4 separate regions of the Homo sapiens genome follow, and regions 2, 3 and 4 are each linked to region 1. Evidence: promoter capture Hi-C in 16 types of primary human blood cells and fetal thymus (Javierre and others, 2016). All regions are on one chromosome and are shown on one strand. The core of a region is centred on a gene start or on the middle of the fragment in contact, and the rest is flanking DNA. Distances in the headings are between cores, read along the strand shown.

Region 1 (2,552 bases), core at 14-2,513:
GAAGGCAAAAGGCACGTCTTACATGGTGGCAGGCAAGAGAGAAAAAATGAGAGCCAAGCGAAAGGGGTTTCCCCTTATAAGACCATCAGCTCTGGGGAGACTTATTCACTACCACGAGACGAATATGGGGGAAACTGCCCCCATGATTCAATTATCTGCCACCAGGTCCTTCCCATAACATGTGGGAATTATGAAAGCTACCATTCAAGATGAGATTTGGGGACACAGCCAAACCATATCATCCAGTCTTGGTAGAGAAAGCTATACCCATCTGTACAAGTGGTTTGAAGGAGACTGTGGGAGAAAAGGGAGGGAAGGGGTGACCAGCCTACCTCCATCTCTATGTTGGTCCCCTCTGCAGACCAACCAGCAGGCCCAGGAAGAGACCTGTGGAAAAGTGAGCAGAGGCAAAGGACTGCGATGAGACAGTGGTGGCTGGGGAGTGGCTTCAAGGGGACAAGCCGAGGTCAGCCCTCCCTCAATGCTGGAGGGAGCAGAGAGAAACAAGGCATGCTTCTGAAAAACAGAAAAATTACATAAGGGTTGGTGTGTCGTTTTCCATCCACTGCTCCAGCACCGAGAGCCAGGAGGACTTTTGCTGTGGCTTAAGAGTGATGGTTTCCCCGTGTGTGGGTGTTTCTGAAAATCTGTGTGTTTCTACAGGCAGAGAACACTGGCACTTTTTGCTATTGTCCAAGTCCATCAATAGGTTTTCTTGCATGTTTACTAACATTTGCCGGAAGCCTCATGAGTCCAGTTTTCCACCCTATAGACTAGGAATAGGAATAGGAATAGGGGCTGTGCTTGGGAAAGGGTTCTTATTTTATAGAAATGTCAAGAGAATGGAATGACTTTAAATACAAACAAAACTCAAAAAACCTATACTCAATTCCAGTTCCTTCTTCCTTCACCTTCCCTCTTTTAAGTGAACATTTGTTGCTGTTACCTTTTTTGTGTCATTTGCCAAAGCGCTACAGACTCAGTGGAGAAAATTGGGAAAATTCAGTGAAGCACGGGTAATATTTTGGTCTCATAGTTTAGAGATAGCGATGAACATTTTTCTTTAAACACTGATGGGGTATTGTGAACTGCGGTATGCTTTTTTCCTCTTCTGCCACTTTCTACTCTTTAAAAGAAGATAAAAAAATAAAAAATAAAAAATAAAAGAAGAATGACCGTCCTTCGAGGGCGCGGCCCCTTTAAGAAGGCAGACGCCGGGGGCGGTCCCCGCGCTGATTGGCGGAGCTCGGAGCCACGTGGCCGTCTCTGGGCGGCTGCTGCCGCTGCCGCTGCTGCTGCTGCGGGGGTCGGGCGGCGGCCAGGGGATTTGGGCAGGCACCGTGGATCCCCGAGAAGGGGACGAGTTGACAGATGTGCGTGAGGAGGTCTCTGGTCGGCCTCACCTTTTGTACCTGCTACCTGGCTTCTTACCTCACGAACAAGGTGAGGGGGCGGGCGCGGGAGGCAGCGATTGCACGTGGGAGGTTTGAGTCGGAGAATCTTCCCGTGACAAACGGAGCCTCCTCCTGCTTTTTACCTCATTCTTCCTGGTGGCGATGGAGATGGAGAGCGAACCTCCTCCGTGTGTGGGATGCTCTTTCAGAAATAGGATTTGCCAGCCTGTACTGTCCCCGTTTCCTGCACTGTAAAGCACGGTACATCTCCAGGGAAACAGGATTTTTGGGCTGGCCATTTCCCGGGAACTTGGTTTGGGGCTGTGTGGACTAGTTTTAAGAGAAAGCAAGCAATTGGCTCCTGCTCCCCCGGGGAGGAAGAGTCAGAAGAAATCTGACACATCCTGCCTTTTTTCTAAACACGCCCCTGTCCCAGAGCCCCCGTGAAGTTCCAGAAGCCTTTAAATAGAAGAGATTAAGCCGTCTCCCCCTCACACTGCTGATTCCCGAATCAATTTTTTTGTACGTCTCCATTGTAAGCACTTCAGGAGTTTTTCATGGAATTATTATTTTTTAAAATAAAACATACATTTAGTTTTAGGTTTAAACTAATGTCATGACATCATGAAAACCTTTTGGTGAGGAGGCAGAGAAGCAGTGGTGCCAGCTTTGGGGTTTTGTTTTGCAAGGAGAGGGAAGCTGGCTTTAGGTTTGGTACCACGCAGGGAAAGGTTGGATCCAATAGGACCGAGTGGGCATGGCTGGGGCATTACCTGCTGGCCTGGACTCTGGGCTGGCCCCAGCCAAAGTGGGAATACAGGGTGCAAGACCACCTGGCCCCACTGTGGGGTCTTACTGCGGGCTCCCCACCTGCTCCCCGCTCTTCCTTTCTCCTCTCTTCCTCTCTGGAAAAGAACCATCGACAAACAGCATTTCCTTCTACCTCCTCTCCTACAATGAATGGCTGCCTTTATATATTCAGAGGATGCTCCCCAACCCCCTTTCCTTCTCCAGTTGATTTTTATTTTTATTTTTTTGAGATAGAGTCTCGCTCTGTCACCCAGGCTGGAGTGCAGTGACGTGATCTCGGCTCACTGCAACCTCTGCCTCCTGGGTTCAAGCGATTCTCCTGCCTCAGCCTCGTGAGTAGCTGGGGCT
Region 2 (2,552 bases), core at 32-2,531, 640 kb after region 1:
CTGTTTCCCACAACTGATTTAGAGCCCAAGGAAAAGGATGCTAAGAGCTTGGGTTCTTTCTCACTGCAAATCTGTGAGCTGGTACTCTTAACCAGCTTTAACTCTTAACCAGTGAGTTAACTCTGTGAGCTTTAACTCTTTACCAGTCACTGCTTCCCCGTACAACCAGCCTGCTTAACCTAGAAGTAAGGGAAAAATCACTCCTTTGCTATTACCCTGCTTTTACCTGACCCCAGACCCCCAAGTCCTAGATATTAAAGTGGGATTTAAAGTCTTTTTTTATTGTTAAATTTGTAGCCAAGGCATGTAGAGGTGTTTGTTCCCTAGTGGGTGGCAGGTTGCAGTCTAATTTTATTTTCATTTTCAAGATTTGGTTTCAGGGCTTAATGTGGGAAATTAGGTGATCATGAATAGAAAGTAATTGTGCAACCATCTATGTCTGATTTATTAAAAAACAAAACTCTGAAAAGGAAAATCACAGCAGTGCCTCATAGTTGTACTTCTATGTTAATATCTGTTTGTCAAAAAGCTTTTCCCCTTTGCACATAATAGGTGATATAAAAGTGTTTCCTAAAATCTCAAATGTAAACTATACCAACAACATGTTCTATTCAGAAATCTGTTTTAGAACAGCTTTTGCATGTTAATGATAAATTCATTTCATTATTAGATTTTTCCTATAATTAGAGATATCTTTTAAAAAGTGAAACAATACCTGCCTCTTAATAAAGTCTTCCTCTTTGTTGAATGAACTAACAAATGAAGACTTCAGGGAAGACTAAAACCATCCTCTACCAAATTCCATGGTATGGCTTGGGACTAGATTGCCTTTGGCTCTGGCAGAACATTATAATCCCTGGAGGGATCTCCTGAATTTAGTAAATGCCTCCTGTGAGTTGAATGACACATTTCTTTGCTAGTGGGTGGGAGTATTCCTACGGTTTTTTTCAGCGTGGATAGTGCCAGGAATCCTAAGGGCTTTGCTTTCAAAAGCAGACAAATAACTCAGTTTTGCAAACCTCAGAGGATCAGTAAGAGAAAGTGACCCAAGCCCCAGAGAAAAAGCAGGGATGTTTAAGGATAGAACCATCCCTTTATTTATCCTTTTATCTCATTCCAGAACCATAAATCTCTTCGCCGTCTTGGATTGCCTCCCTATAACAACATGTGGTAGAGATTTTGGCCCAAGTACTAATTAAACCTGAAGGAACCCCAAGGGGAAAACTCAGTCTTGAGTCTCCCTCTGGTGGACATTTGTAGTAATCCACATACAGCTCTGTCAAATGAAGGGACGAATTTCAGAAATAAATATTCAAAGAATAGTAAACATATTCTAAGACACCAGCACTATGCACTATTATTTTCTATGCATTAATTAAAATTCTTAAATTATTCACCTCTATAATCTTCTGTTTTATTTCCTAGAATTTACCCTCACTTTGAAAATCTGAGCTGGATGCAGTGGTTCACGCTTGTAATCTCACCACTTTGGGAGCCCAAGGCAGTAGGCTCATTTGAGGCCAGGAGTTCCAGACCAGCCTGGCCAAAATGGCGAAACCCTACCTCTACTAAAAATACAAAAATTAGCTGGGCATGGTGTTGAGCGCCTGTAATCCCAGCTACTCGGGAGGCTGAGGCAGGAGAATCACTTGAACCCGGGAGGCAGGAGAATCGCTTGAACCCAGAAGGCGGAGGTTGCAGTGAGCCGAGCTAGCGCCACTGCACTCCAGCCTGTGTGACAGACCGAGACTCCGTCTTGATTAAAATAAAATTTAATAAAAAGTTTAAACAATTCCTTGAAACAAAACAGCCTAGAGTCCCCTCACCCCAGCGCTACAAAGTAAATGAAAGAAGTAAACAGTTTGTCCATCTCCATTTCCATTCTAACACAGAACACCAAAGCAGAGATGATTTAAAATTTGCCATTTGTAATTAACTGCTGGGCAGGATTCCACTGGAAAATTTCCCTCTCACCTTTAACTTGAATCCAGAGGAGGTTTAAGGTGTTATCAGCTCTTCCTCAGGGAAGCTTCCACGCAGGAGGCTTTCTTTGGAGCTCTGTTCCCTAGGTAGCTCCAGGATCTTTGGACTTTTCTTGTGCTTATATAGTTAATGGCCCTCTGAATTGCTCTCTTCAAAAGGGGAACCGTTTGAACTTGGGGGGCGGAGGTTGCAGTGAGCCGAGATCTCGCCATTGCACTTCAACCTGCGCGACTGAGCAAGACTCTGTCTCAAAAAAAAAAAAAAAAAAAAAAAAAGGCCAGGGGCGGTGGCTCACACCTGTAATCCCAGCACTTTGGGCAGGCGGATCAGGAGGTCAGGAGATCGACACCATCCTGGCTAACACGGTGAAACCCTGTCTCTACTAAAAATACGAAAATTAGCCGGGCATGGTGGGCGGGCTCCTGTAGTCCTAGCTACTCCGGAGGCTGAGGCAGGAGAATGGCGTGAACCCGGGAGGCGGAGCTTGCAGTGAGCCGAGATCGCGCTACTGCACTCCAGCCTGGGCGACAGAGCGAGACTCCGTCTCAAAAAAAAAAAAAAAAAAAAAA
Region 3 (2,552 bases), core at 19-2,518, 590 kb after region 1:
GAGAAAAATAAAATAGGAAAGTATTTACTTATAAATGTCTTTATATTTCTTCTTTAAAAAAAGTGTCTCATCATTAGAGCAATATAAAAGAGTAACAACTTCACAAATTATGACAGATTTTTTAAAGGCCTGAATGTTACTTTAGAGATGCTTAACACCAATGTTCTCAATCTCGGAAGAGAGAATTAAAGCCAAGTGATTTGTGGAAGATTGTATAATGCACTAGCAGCAGAGTTGGAACTAGAACCCTGGTATCTGGATTCTCAGTCGATGACTCTGTTAAATTGTCCACATTTCTTCTTGCAAGTTGATGTGCATTTATTAAATATCTGTCACTGTGCTAGGCTACACCCTTGAAAAATAAAATGTGCCAATGAAATGTGCATTCAGCAGACTTCAGTATAGATAAATAATTAAGTTGAGAAAGCCTAATAAATTAAGCCTCAAGATTTGATTGAATTCTTTTGCCTTAGATTAAAAATGGTGTGTATGATAACTTTTTTTCCTTTTCTCATTAAAGATTTCAAGGCATTTCATACAATTATATGAAACATTACAACCTTCTTAAAGGGAGGGATTATTATATTCATTAGGAAATGAATGTACAGAGACATTAAATCGTTTGTACATTAGTCACCAAGAATAAGAATAACCCTAGGATCCCTTAGTTCTGGGTGATTTCCAAAAAACCACACCTTTCATGGATTCAGATTAACTTTGGACCACTCCTAGAATCCTGGACATGTCTGGAAAGTGAATAGGTCATTGCATTTCATTTTAGGTCAAGTCAACCACAAATCTGGCTGAACCTGACTAATCTGAGCAGAGTCCACCAAACTATGGCTTCTAACCTAGGTTAACTCCAACAGAACTGGGGAACCATTTATTATTCTGTGGGTGAGGCCGCATGCATCACAAGTCAACAGCATATGAATGAAAACCACAGAATTAAAGGTGTTACTGGCACCAAGACCCAAACTAAAAGTGCTGATCCAGGAATGACAATTTCTAAACATTTTCAGGCAAGTTAGGAACACAAGTAAGACTAGCTCTGGGCAGATCCCATTTGTGTGACTGGCACCAACACAGAAAATACTGTACAGTGTGTGCCTCATTTACCTTGGCACTGAGGCTGCATCAGCCCCTTTGTGCCCTGACTATGCCTTATGCAAATTTTAAGATACAAAGCAATTTTTTGTTCCAGGTTTATTTTAATCATCTTTAGATTCTCCTTCCCTTAGCAGGTTACCTTCATTGTGGTAAAAATAAAGAAATAAGTAAGTCTGTGATCCCCTTGTATAGTTTAAAAACATTCTGGTTGCCAGGGGAAATGCAAATGCAGATCCTTTCTTCCATAGTCTTCCAGGTTTTCGGGGTATATTAGGTCAAGTCCATTAAGAAGTAGGAGATTTACTGGGGGAAGGAGGAGAAGGTGGAGAGATCCTTCAGATTGTGTAGAAGAGAAGGAAGAAAGGAAGACTGGGTATGAGGAGTCTCAGACTGCAGTGCAGTACCAAGGAAGATTTGGCCAGGTTGATGGGGAGTCCTTGAATCAAAGTTACTGAGGAGTCCTGTATATTGCCAAAATGGACCTACCTTAGTATCTCTGAGGTGGTCCAGAATTGGCTGGGAACCACCCCCCACAACAAAAGTATGTCCTTGGGGCAAATGCAGTGCTGGATCCAGAGGGACAAGATCTCAGGCTGTTGGTCAGTTATGCTCCTCACAACAGGAGGTCTGACAGGAGCATTTTCATGCCTGCTCCTGTCTAACCCTTGTTCCACACAGGTCTACTTCACATAGCTTTGGGATGCAACTCCTCCGTGGTTCCTTAGGGGTCTCTTTCTAAGGGGGAATTTAGAAGAGGGATAGTAGAACCATGTCTGGCACAATAGCTATCATCAGGGATACTCCTTTGTTGAGCTTGTGATAGTCTACAGATGGCTTTTGCAGGGGCCAGATTAGTGAATTAAATGAAGATATGATGAGAGCCACCATCTCTGCCTCCTTTAGCTCTTTAATGACAGCAACAATCTCCTTCATCATCTGTAGGATATATTGTTTTTGAATTACTATGTTGGCTGAGGAGGAACAATTTTAAAGATTTCCACTTGGTTTTTCCTGCTGTGATAGCTCTTACTCCATAGGCCAAGGGTCTTAATCTGGGGGTTACTCCAACTGCCAAGTTGTTGCAGTGGGTGTCGTAGGAATGATTATAGAATATACTTTCTGTGGTATTTAGTCAATGGATTTTGGTTCTAAAAATCTGCTCAAGTCTGGGAATATTAGCAGAGGATTGTGACTTTTTTATAGGTATGACTATCCTCTGCCTCTTGCTCTCCCATTCTTGCCTTTTTTTAAATTTAAAGATGTTAAGTAGCACCCTTGCTGACTGCCCTTCTATTTTGCTCCTAGGAAAACCATGCTTTATCAACCATCTCCACAACTCCCTGTGGATCAAACCCATTGGCTGCTCTGATCTTGCAGGCCATTATGGTAATTGCAGCCTCCTGACTTTTGATAGTTAAGTGCTATCACTTGGCCTCTATTCC
Region 4 (2,552 bases), core at 35-2,534, 520 kb after region 1:
TTACAGGAGTGAGCCACTGCGCCCGGCCCCAACATTATATCTTAATGCCTTCCAAGATTGCTGATTTTATTTTTATCTTTCTGACAAAAACGTGCATATTCTAAGTTAAAGTTGACTTCTCTTACTGAAAGAAAATACTGAAATACTTCAGGAAATACCGAAGCTATTTGTTGAAATGTATTATATAGTCTGTAAAAGGGGTAAGAAGGATACTGACATTTGCTGAGCACCTGCTATGTTCTAGGAACTATGTGAAGTGTTTTACATGATATCTCATTTAATTCTTCCAATAACTCTGAAAGAATGGTATTAACTTAACTTCCTTAACTAGATGGAGAAAAGCTAACTCAGAGAGTTAAATAATTTCCAAGGGGAACGTAATTTGTAGCAGAGTTATTCAGACCCATGTCAATTTGGCTCAAAAGCTCACATGCTTTTCAGTATACTGCCTTTTCTCTTGTAAAGTTAAGAAACAAATGAAAGCGATTTTTTTCAGAGTCCACTTGGACTGAACTAAAATGACCAAATTTAGAAGCATTTTCCAGGTAGGATTTTACCTGTGATAAGATAAGGTAATTAGTAGAATTAACATTTAGTACCAGGAATCAGAATTGAAATTTTTGGCCTTTGGTTCTCCAACTTTCTGTAATCACATTTCCTAGGAATTCCTCAAATTAAAAATGTTTAAAACTTTTTTGAGCACTTGTGTGCAAAGCTTACCCCTTCAATAACAGCTTCTATCACCTCTAAGATGGGTTTTTAAGTCCTGCAATTTCTGTCTTCATAACAAAATTTTCCTGTCAGTTCTAACCAAATTTAAAGAATACTATATTAACTTAGGCAAATCCTAAATTATGAGCATTTAAGAATGACTAAAATAATACAAAAATATATACATACTAAGAAAATAGACAGTTGAGACAGCTTAAAGCAATATTGAGTCAGAAAATGAGAGCGGGATCCACAAGTTGGGCAAATATGAAAGAATGTGAGGCTTTCATCAGTCTGAAACAAAATAATATGATGGCATTAAGAGATTGGGGTTTGAAGTGGTAGTCACCTTTGTTATCAATGGCAATCCCATATATATTCAGCCATTGTCCCAAAAATGTTTGGGGCAATAATGGTATAGATTAAAATATAAAAACAAATGATTTTTTAGTTCACCAAAGATTCATTAACACACTATACAACATAATTTTACCTTTTTAGATTAGATTTCATGTAGTATTCAGAAGAGTCAATGTAGGGTAGTGAAAAAATTACTGGTCTTGGTGGAAGTCAGGAAACCTGGATGTTCTGGCCCCAGATCTACCCTTAGATTATATAATAGTGACTTAGCTATATTTTGGGGCTTTTCATTTCTTAACTCAAAAATGAGATATTGGATTCATTGGTTATTCTTTAAATGTCCCTCTTAGGTAAAAAATGACATAATTCTAAGTGCTTTTAGTGGAAAACACATGAAGATATTCAGGAGGGAAAGAAGTTGCAGTTGTTAAGAAAGCTAGCATTGTTGACAGAAAGAGTTATGCGAAATTGTGCAGCTAGGAATAAAAAGAAATGCATCCTCGACTAAAAGAGTAAAAAAATTTTAAATGAGTGGAATACTTTTTGACTAGGCGCTGAAGTATGTTGGTCTGTATAAAATACATACACACTCCTAATTTGATTGACAAATTTATATATCCTCAGTTTTAACAAAAATATCGCAATGTATCAATATTTTAAAGGACTAAATTTATGGAAAATACATGAAAGTAATATCTAATAGGACTTACATATATTTGAAAATGAAAATTCCATTAAATGAAAATTGTAAAATCCTCTCCCAAAATACAGAGTTAAGCTTGAAATTTTACCCATGGATTTTATATAAATGTATATCTAGTTCTTAAATAGCTTTCTTCAAAACCATAAACATAAAAAATGCTCAATAAATAAATTAGAATCCCAAATTAAATTTATCTTTAAACAGTAAGCCCTATGTTTTAAACACGGTGTGGTTTAAATTTTTTAAATTATCATATGCAATATATTCACCAGAAATACTAACAATGTGCTCTATTGGTATATATATATTACCTGAAAACTAGGTTTCATGTAGTAAATTCAGAAAAATTCAGCCAATTAAAAGTTTTGATCCATATTACCAAAAACTTGTCAAAATACAATTTGTGCTGAATAAAATTAATATTGGCTTGCTGAATCAGCACATTGCTTTTGCAGATACAACATTACATAGCTTTTCAGCAGTTTACCTGGATTACCAGAAATTCATGCAGAACTGCCTAGAAGTAGGACTATGAAGCATCCAAGGGTTTTCCCTGCAAAAAATGAAATCTCATCTGAACATTTATTCACACTTTTAAATTTATTCTTTGTCAACATCCTAAGGAAACTAATATTATAGCCTTTGAGTTAGAAAATAATTTTATAGCCTTTGAGTTTGAACATAGTGACAAAGTGGGAACCCTAGGGACAATGAAAAGGATGCATCAGTCTTGCTCAGCTCAAAGCAAAGTCCTACTAAGATGACAGGAAAGCATTCA

What was found. Contacts are between HindIII fragments. The CHiCAGO score rates a contact against its expected background, and 5 or more counts as called.
Region 2: a fragment that was not itself captured here is called in contact with the fragment with the promoter of SLC35D4 in region 1 in 3 of 17 cell types (activated CD4 T cells, naive B cells and total B cells); the score reaches 7.1 in activated CD4 T cells.
Region 3: a contact is called between a fragment that was not itself captured here and the fragment with the promoter of SLC35D4 in region 1, in 1 of 17 cell types (total B cells). The highest score is 5.8, in total B cells.
Region 4: a contact is called between a fragment that was not itself captured here and the fragment with the promoter of SLC35D4 in region 1, in 2 of 17 cell types (total CD4 T cells and activated CD4 T cells). The highest score is 6.0, in total CD4 T cells.

The regions. Positions count from the first base shown.
Region 1 is chr18:23,436,672-23,439,223 of GRCh38, reverse strand. It overlaps SLC35D4 (solute carrier family 35 member D4), which reads left to right and starts at 1,263. Exons shown (of 15, transcript NM_032933.6): 1 at 1,263-1,443. The coding sequence starts at 1,372. RefSeq lists a silencer at 1,135-1,234. The HindIII fragment of the contact is 5,255 bases long and covers 1-2,552 here.
Region 2 is chr18:22,797,910-22,800,461 of GRCh38, reverse strand. All of the region lies in intron 2 of RBBP8-AS1 (RBBP8 antisense RNA 1), which reads left to right. It overlaps LOC124904263 (a long non-coding RNA gene), which reads right to left and starts at 2,232. Exons shown (of 2, transcript XR_007066308.1): 1 at 1,975-2,232. The HindIII fragment of the contact is 1,500 bases long and covers 532-2,031 here.
Region 3 is chr18:22,842,568-22,845,119 of GRCh38, reverse strand. All of the region lies in intron 2 of RBBP8-AS1 (RBBP8 antisense RNA 1), which reads left to right. Among named protein-coding and RNA genes, the nearest start is that of RBBP8, 89 kb to the left of the region's middle. The HindIII fragment of the contact is 8,089 bases long and covers 1-2,552 here.
Region 4 is chr18:22,915,195-22,917,746 of GRCh38, reverse strand. The region is part of intron 2 of RBBP8-AS1 (RBBP8 antisense RNA 1); the gene reads left to right. It also overlaps a transcript of RBBP8 not described here. Among named protein-coding and RNA genes, the nearest start is that of RBBP8, 17 kb to the left of the region's middle. The HindIII fragment of the contact is 1,134 bases long and covers 718-1,851 here.